Linked DNA regions of Homo sapiens: region 2 is linked to region 1. The links are contacts of gene promoters, found by promoter capture Hi-C in blood cells and fetal thymus (Javierre and others, 2016). All regions are on one chromosome and are shown on one strand. The core of a region is centred on a gene start or on the middle of the fragment in contact, and the rest is flanking DNA. Distances in the headings are between cores, read along the strand shown. Region 1 holds the start of PLEK2 (pleckstrin 2). Region 2 overlaps MAX (MYC associated factor X).

Region 1 (4,494 bases), core at 1,076-3,575:
GACATAGGGAATGCTATTGCCATCTAAGAGTAGAGGGGATATGGAGGGTTGAAAAAGTTGGGATTACTCAGCAGACTGGGACCACAACAGGGTTCTGGGGCCCTATCCTTCAGCCTGCAGGGAGGGGTGTGACTTCTGCTTGCCTCAGGGTCAGGCTCCATCCCAGTCTTTGGGTCTGGCTGGAATGAGCTCTAGGTATTTCAGCCAAGCCCCGTCTTTTCCAAGGGCTTACGGGGACCAGATCTGTTGACTCTCCTCATTTTCTGCACCCTGGATTCCCTAACCAGGCCACCCAGAAGAGAAGTCCCATCCTCCTGGTGATATCCTGGGAGCTCTGTGGCTCTGCCCTTAGCCCTCCTCTGACTCTCAGCATGGTGGGGGTGATAGGGAATGATGGAAGGTAACCCCCAGGAACAGGAGAAGGCCTCCAAAACTCCCAAAGCTCTATCAGAAGGATCTGTCTCCATGTTAACTTCATCCCTCCACAGGCTCTACCAGGGCCCAGCTATATCAACAGTGCCAACAAAAAGCCCCGTGCCCAGCTCTCACTCTCCCTCCCACCTCCCAAGCCGCAGTTAAATGTGAGATTAGGAGCTCCCCATGTGTAGTCTGAGGTGCAGCCACCTCCACATGCTGCGAGAAACCGGCCTATCAGTTCAGCCACAGTGGCAAGTGGGCGTGGCGCTTTGTACTGCTCTATCCAGTCTGACCCTTGATCTGGCATCAGCTTCTACCCTCCTTGCTTACTGTTTACAGCAAACAGCCACCGCTCTCCTGTACCAAATAACGTGCAACATCATGTGGACACATTTTGTGGGGAAAATGAAAGTGATGTGAGACTTTAGGGCTGATCCAGCCACCCCGGGAGGCAATGAAAGGAAGGGCCCCTCATCCCTCTTCATTCCCCTCCCAAAGCTGAAAACTCAGTAGAAGAACCAGAAAGCTCAGCCCTGGATTTATATGTCTCTTTGCTATGCCATCATAGCAGTATAAATGGTTAGTGTTAATGTCATTGTTCAAATTACGCTCTGTGTGGTGGCTCACGCCTGTTATCCCAGCACCTTGGGAGGCTAAGGTGGGCAGATGACTTAAACCCGGGAGTTCAAGACCTGCCTGGGAAACATGGCGAAACCCTGTCTCCACAAAAAAATACAAAAATTAGCTGGGCATAGTAGTGGATACCTGTAGTCCCAGCTACTAGGGAAGCTGAGGTGAGAGGACCACCTGAGCCTGGGAAGTCGAGGCTGTGGTGAGCCAGGATTGTGCCACTGCACTCCAGCCTGGGTGACCCTGTCTCAAAAAAAAAAAAAAAAAAAAAAGGTCAAATCAGGAAAAAATTTTGAAATAACAAACTTCCTTTTGCAGCTGCTCTTTTGTTCATCTTCTACCATAATCCCAGGCACTGAGTTTTTGTTTGCACTCGTTTGCCCTGGGCCACCTGGGGTGGTGGGGAAGGACTGAGGAGGGGAGGTCAGAACATGCAGTTCCTGTCCCAGCTATTACTGGCTCTGGAGCTCTGGGCAAGCTACTTCATCTTTCTGGTCCTCAGTTTCCCCGTCTGTAATAGAGTGATGTCAGTACCCACCGTGTATGGCACTGGGGAGGCAGTAAAGGTTTGGGTCAACCTGAGTGGGTCTGATCCCGATCCTGGCTCCACCACCCACTGCCTTCACCGCCCCGAGCAAGTTCCCTAACTCCTCTGGGCTTCGTTTTCCCCCTTGATGAAAGCAGGGCTGCTGGGAGGATGACATGAGACAATATCCAGGGCTGGCCAACAGTAAGTGCTTAAGACACATAGTAGCATTCCTCCTTCACAGGTTGTAAATTACAGAGCACGCCTATATTATCTTAGTAAATATTATTTAAATATCATACCATTCATAATATTTTAACAAGTTTTAATTAAGACACACGCTTCAGTACCCCTGCCCCGACTCCATACTGCGCTAACCAAGTGGGATTCTCCTCCTTGCCTGTGCGCTGAGCCACCGCTTACCCCGCGTCCCCTCGGACATGCAGCTCTGCCCATCAGGGCCACAGGCGGCCCGGTCCCACCATGGGGGTTGGGGATGGGAACCAGAGCATGCCCGTTCCGGGGCGCGCGTCTGGCCCCGCTCTAGGGAGCCGCGTCGGCGGGGCCCCACCCGGGCAATGTCCCGAAGCTCGACGCGCACTCACCCTCTTGACCAGGAAGCCCTCCTTGAGCACGCCGTCCTCCATGTCGCCGCCCGCACGCCAGGGCCACCCCAGGTGCGCCTTCCCCGCGCCTCGCGCTCCTCGGCACCCGCGCAGCCCGCGCAGTCCGCGCCCACGGCGCCCAGGAAGCAGCTCCGACGCGGCAGGGCGACGCCTCCCTGGCGCGTGTCCAGAGCCTGAGGCCCCGGGGCAGGAAGTCAGACCAAGTCGGGATTTCTGACGTGACGTTTCCACCCAAAGGTGCTCCAGGGTCGGTGGTTGGTCCTCCAGGTACAGAGCGGCCAACCCCGCCCCATCCAGGTGCGCCCCGCGCCCCTCACTGTTCCAGTCTCTCTGCTCAGCGTCCTTCGCCAGGTGCTTCCCGGGCACTTAGCGCATTGCCCTCGAGGAACGCTTATCGAATTGAACATAACCGACAGGACTCCAGGATTTGGAGCCATTCCTGAGCTCATTGCAAGTAGGAGATGGGACAGTGGGTGAGCCGAAACTGGTATGGGAATTTTATCCTGGCCTCTGATGGGGGCAGAGAAGACCTCTCAGTAACAGGAAGGTCACAGTTTTAAGGCGGCAGGCACAGTTTGCAGGGCCCCCTGTCCGCAGGATATACCCCGCTCCCTCAAAAAAGATGAAGCCGAAAATTCCATCATTAAGGACAAAATTTAAGGGGGCACCAAGGAGTCCAGTAACCTAGACAAATTATATATAGAGAGAGATGATTGGTTTTTTGGGGTTTTTTGTTTGTTTTTTGAGACAGGGTCTTTCTCTGTCACCCAGGCTGGAGTGCAGTGGTGTGATCATAGCTCACTGCAGCCTTAAACTCTGGGCTTAAGATCCTCCTGCCTCAGCTCCCCAAGTAGCTAGGACTACAGGAGTGCACCACCATGCCTGGCTGGTTTATTTTTATTTTTCGTAGAGATAGGGTGTTGCTATGTTGCCCAGGCTGGTCTTGATTCCTGGCCTCAAGCAATCCTCCGGCCTGGGCTTCCCAAAGTGCTGGGATTACAGGCAAGAGCCACCGTGTAAGACCTAGAAAAATAATATTTTAATGCATTTTTTAAAATCAAAATTAATGTCAAAAAATCCACGATGAACAAAATGCTAACATTTTAAATAGATAGGATCAACAACAATGTTCTATCAGGCCATATTGGAGCCTGGAACAGAAGGAAACTCAGTCAAATAGTACTGATTCTGTCTAACAATCCTTAGAACACAGTCACACATTTTTTTAAAATTTATTTTTATTTATAGAGACAGGGTCTCACTATATTGTCCAGACTGGTCTCGAACTCCTGGGCTCAAGCAGTCCTCCTGCCTCAGCCTCCCAAAGTGCTGGGATTGTGGGCATGAGTCATGGGGCCGGTCCATATTATTTGTGCTCCAGTTTGAAGGGCCCTGTCAGGACTCTTCACCAGGCATGGGAAAGGCCCTCAGATGCCTGTAAGGGAAGAGAAGGCTCTAGAGAGGAAGAAGGTGAACCAGCTTGTGGAAGGCGGGGGGTGCCTTTCAGAACCAGACTGAAGCCAGCTCCCAGGCCAGTCCCTGCCCTGGAGCTCTTGACACAGTGTTGCTTCTACATGTCTGTAGTAGACATATTACATCCCCCCAACCCCACTCCCACCTGCCAGCCCCAAGGAAAACTCGCAGGGTCTGGGTCACTGCGTGCCAGCCCAATGGCCCACTCTAGCCTTCTGCACTAACTGGCCTTCAGACTTCCCAGGAAGCCCCAAAGCAGTGGGGCTTCCATTCCAATTCAGAATGAACATCAGCTGGTCACCTTCTGAAGCCAGGCCTGTAGTAGTAGGTGCTAGGTTTTATCTAAAGTACAACAACCCCATGAGGTGTTTATTATGTCATTTTCCAGTCAAGGAAACTGAATCCAAGTAGTTAAATAACTTGCCCAAGGTTATGCAGCTCCAGGGCATTGCAAATACTCTTGCCTCCTAAGGAATTGTCCCAGCTCTGAAACCTAGCTGGGCTGAAAGCCAGGACTTGAGAGGTTGAGCTGGGAAGTTCTCATCCTCTTCGGCTCTAACTGTGGTCTATCCATCTCCTTCCTCAAAGAGGCTGTCTTGGCCCCACCCAGACACAATCTTCTGAGGCTTAGAAGAAGTGGCATTTTCTTTGGCAGGAGGGGTTCTTGAATGAATTCACAGAAATGGGAATGGGAAAGAGATGGATACCTTCTCCTGGCAGGGCTCCTGCCAGGAAGAAGTTAAGGCACACCTAGAACCTGCTTCCTGTCCTAGGAAACCCCTGGTCCAGCCCACCCTGCCTGACTCACTGGATCTGGGGCAT
Region 2 (4,494 bases), core at 1,237-3,736, 2.3 Mb before region 1:
TCTTTGGTCTCCAGAGCAGCCCAAGATACTCCTGTCTACTAAATCACCCTGATTCTTGGCCCTCCTCCCAGCTAAGAGCTGTGCACCAGAATTACCCACAATCCCTCTTGTTGATACAAATAAAATTCTAATTGTCTGTTTTCTTTCTGGGAGAGCCCTGCAAATCTCAAACAGCTAGAATGAAGTTGCACTTGGTTTCACGTGGACCTGCACTAAAGGGGTGGAGCTAAGTATAATCTAACACCAAAATCATCCCCACAATGCACTACCCCCTCCCATTCACTGAGCTCTGAAAGGACTCAAATGGACAAGTCTCTCGGTTGGAGGATTGTAAGTGAACTTGGCTGTAGATCATGAGCAGAAATCTTGGCTTCTCATCTGGGGAGCCAGCCAAGTTTGAGAAGTTGGCTCAACAAGGAAAGGCAGCAGTCCACTGCCTGGTAGAAAGCCTGGGCTGGGGACTGTTGTTCTCAAAGTAGTGGATGGAATTTCTGTAGTGGTTCCAGGCCCAATTTAACTAGCAGAAGAGTGGAATCTTACACCAATCCCTGCTGCCATGTCCATCCCTGAGCTACTAGTGGAGTCAATTTTAAATCTCTCAGAGACAATGGCAAGGATGTATTTTTCTCTTCCCCAAGCTTGATTTGAAAGAACAAGTTAAAAACATGCAGAACTAACAAGCCTAATTCCAGGCAACTGTGAATTAAATGTTATCACTAATGTTTTGAAAGAGCACATGAAAAACAGAAAAACCTTTACACAAGGCTGAGAATTCTCTGTGGGAAACATTTCCAAACCACAGATCCACCCAGACCAATAACACTGCCCGCGCCTCATCCCCACCCCCATTGGAGGACTAGTTTGCAGGCTTTATCACTGCCTTGTTAACTGTCTTTGCTTGCTGGCAACCCTTTTTGAGAGGGCCAAGATTTCAGAGTTGAAGAAGAAAAACTGGGTGAAGACTCCCAGTGTAAGGCATCTAATATCCTCCCCCAAATGCAAAACTGGTTTTAAAAAACAAGCCCAAACAATTGTCTTGAACAAATAAAACTCTACTCAGATGAGCCTGTACTGAGAATGATGTTCAGTAATGAAAACAAATGGTACGGAAAACCCCCTTGTGGAATTAATTAGGCCCTATTCTAGGAGACCACAGAGGTATTCTTGGACTGTACAGCAGGCTCCCAAACATCTCCCCTACACATCCTATGGTTACAGTGGCTGGATGCTGCCCACTCTTCTAGTACGCTGGATTTGTACGTCTGGATGTCTGCCAGAAAACCCTTCCTCCAGGGCATCCCTAACAGAAATACTAAGGGGCTATGCAGTGGTCCACAGATGCTCAACAGAAACTCCCGCACCAAATCACTTCCAGCTTTGACATCTCTGCCAAAGTTTTTATTCAGCCTCTCAGTTATATTTCTACCCAACTTTCCACACTGGTAGACAGAATAAAAATCTTCACCTACAATTTGTCCATCTTTGACACTACCAAGCACGTGTATCTTAAGTGTTGTTAGATGTTGAAGACAAACATTATTTTGTTAGCCAAGAAGTTGCTATGTTGGCAAGAAGTCATCTAGGCTAAGGAGGTCTGTTCAAAATTGAGGGAAATCTCTTAAAATTATTTCCTTCCAACTTACTGCAGAGAGACTGCATCTTTGTTCAAGGCATCACATCAGTCAGTAATCTTATTTCCTCCAAGTTCTAGGCAAATAGCACGGGGAAATAAATGCTTCATTATTCCAGGATGCACAAGGTTCTCCAGAACAATGCCATGTCTTACAGGCTACCTGACAGCTAACCCCACCTATAAGGGGAACCATCTCAATTCTAATACAGAAAATTCTCAGCATATAGGGAATTAGTTGCCCACTCAATATTTACTACCTTTACAAAATGTGAAGGTTGTATTTTAGAGGGAAGCTTGTGTTGCTTATGATTCTTATCAAGCTATTCTTATTAGAGACTAAGGACACGAGAATACACAGACCCAAAAATCTCATCCGAAAAGATCTATTTCTTACTTCTGATAGATAAGAACAAGATAGGATAAAGCTCAATTTCTAAGCAACTTAAAATATTCATTTTAATCAACCCAAAAATTATAACATAAAATAATAGGCAGGTAGGATGGGATAAACTCACCAAGCTCCCTAAGAGAAAGACATGGATTTCAATTTTCCAATACCTGTCCTGCTTGTAGCTGATTGCCTGGTATACATTTCCAACATTATCTAATGTATGTATTTGTTTTCAAACTTTTTTCTTTTGGTGCCTAAAATAACTGGCAAATGCTATAATCCAAACAGGGCCTCATACTATAGCCATTTCAGAGAAGGATGCCTTGGTCAGGAAATTTTAATTAAAAACCAAGCTGAATTCTTTGACCAACTATTTCACCGTTACTGGCATCTTGGAAAAATTCTTTTAGACATAAGAACAACTTTTACCCTAACACAGGCACATTTAGGAACTAACTCTGGCATTTGTTATCACTGTAAGCATCACTGTCAACACTCTAAGCAGAGAAAAAGTACATGCATTGTGCAGCACTTTTGCCATGCAACTGACTGCAGGTAAAACAGACAGTAGTTTCCTGAGTGAATTCCAATCTCGGAGGCTACCAAGCTCGTTCTCTTCTGAATATTCCTAAAGAAGCAAAGAGCTCTGAGAAGTTAAAAATATTTCATGCCAGAAAGGTCCAGAAGTGGAATTGCACAAATCTGTTTTCAAACCCCTCACAAGTATACTGCAACTGCAACTCAGTCAGGTGCCATCAAGGATGGTCACTGGAAAAAAAATTGCATTTCCTGACCAACACACTAACCCATACATTTCCTGTATACTTACACTCTTTCCTAAAGAAATTTCCCAAACAGAAATAAAGCAAAAGGAAGCCCTTGCAATATAATATACCTGTCCCACAAATTTATCTTTAAAATGCAACCTCTTCCCTCCAAAATATAATAAAAATAACATCAGTGGGATTTTGCGATGTACTGAATTTAGTAGTAAGAATACTCTTTGGGGTTACTTCCTTTAACAAAGCTTACTGGCCATTGGAGAAGCTGTTTTCCGTTTGTACTGAAGCAATAGAAAAAAATATTTGCCAAATCAGTTTCACTTTCTGTTAGAGTTAGCCTAACTTCCTAACTCTCTTCTCAGTATCTTACATTTCTCATGTAGTAAGGCCTATATATTGTAGTGACATTATAAAACATACATGAATGTTTTTATATTAGGATCCACAGAACCCTTTTCAAATAACTTTTTCAACATCTTCTGTAGTCCTGAATACCTAAGTATTTGGTTGTTCACAGTCCACATCTTTTTTTAAACCTTTTTTCTAAGGCAAAACTTAAGAATAGCTCCCTCTTAAATTTTAAAAAATATATTTATTATCCATATTAAATATTGAGAAGTAAGCAGATGCATTCACAGAGGGGAAAAAATGGAATCCTTTTTACCCTACACAGTCACAATAGTTGTTTGATATACTATAAAATTTGTTTATAACATATCTGCTTTTTCTCTCCATGCTGTTGTAATTACATTGTGCAGAGTAATATTTAGAAATATCAACAAATAGATGTGTTAAATTAAAAACAAAGTGTCAAACCAACTTCCTTTGCCTACCCCCAAAATCAAAAGGAAAAATCCTAGGCACCTTAACAGCAAACTAAAAACATCTAGACAAAACAATGAGATTAGCATTCCAGGAAAGCAGAAACATTATAATAATTTAATAACAAATTTATATCAACGATCATATGGATGAAAATTTTGAAAAGCAGAAAGCTTTCAAGAACTGCGAGCCAAAATTTCACCAAAAAAACAAACAAACAAACAAACAAACAAAAAAAACACAACTTTCTCTTACTGGGAAGTCAGTATAATTTCAATTCAAAGGATAATTCTGCAAAGGAAGGCTAAACGATCCTTACCCTCCAGCTCTGATCAAGCCCTAGCACAGATTTTACAACTGGAGACTTGCAGGGAAAAAAAAAGTTTTCAACAGACTAGGCCCCAAACATGAAGGATAAAAGTAAATGTGAAAAAGGAATTCAATTTTCAAATATATGCATAAGTATATGAGAATACTTCAAGGATAAATAAAATAAAACAAATTATCTTTAATGACTATTACCCAGGGATAATTTTTAAGACTTTTGGAACAACTACATCCCCGGATTTTATGGAAATATCAGCTCTCAATAAATAAGTTTTCTTAATGCCTATCTGCTTAGACAACCTGCACAATCTTTGCTTGCTCTAATGAAGAGCAGGTATAACTGAGATGGCTTGCCTTTACCCTGTGGTTATCAAGTTCTTATACCAGAGGTATCAAAGTGACATCCTGCAAATTCTAACAAGCCCCCAAACAGTTGTTCCACACATCATTTTAAAAATCAGAAAAATAACATAAAGTTTTAGATTTCTAATCTTTCTTAAAAAATAGGAAGATCGGCTGGGCGTGGTGGCTCATGCCTG

Evidence for each region. The method cuts DNA at HindIII sites, captures the fragments that hold promoters and counts their contacts. A CHiCAGO score of 5 or more calls a contact.
Region 2: a contact is called between a fragment that was not itself captured here and the fragment with the promoter of PLEK2 in region 1, in 1 of 17 cell types (M0 macrophages). The highest score is 5.5, in M0 macrophages.

What each region holds. Positions count from the first base shown.
Region 1 is chr14:67,409,840-67,414,333 of GRCh38, forward strand. PLEK2 (pleckstrin 2) reads right to left here and starts at 2,326. Exons shown (of 9, transcript NM_016445.3): 1 at 2,179-2,326. The coding sequence starts at 2,220. It also overlaps a transcript of GPHN not described here. The HindIII fragment of the contact is 5,074 bases long and covers 1-4,494 here.
Region 2 is chr14:65,095,701-65,100,194 of GRCh38, forward strand. All of the region lies in intron 2 of MAX (MYC associated factor X), which reads right to left. Among named protein-coding and RNA genes, the nearest start is that of MAX, 4.6 kb to the right of the region's middle. The HindIII fragment of the contact is 1,125 bases long and covers 1,925-3,049 here.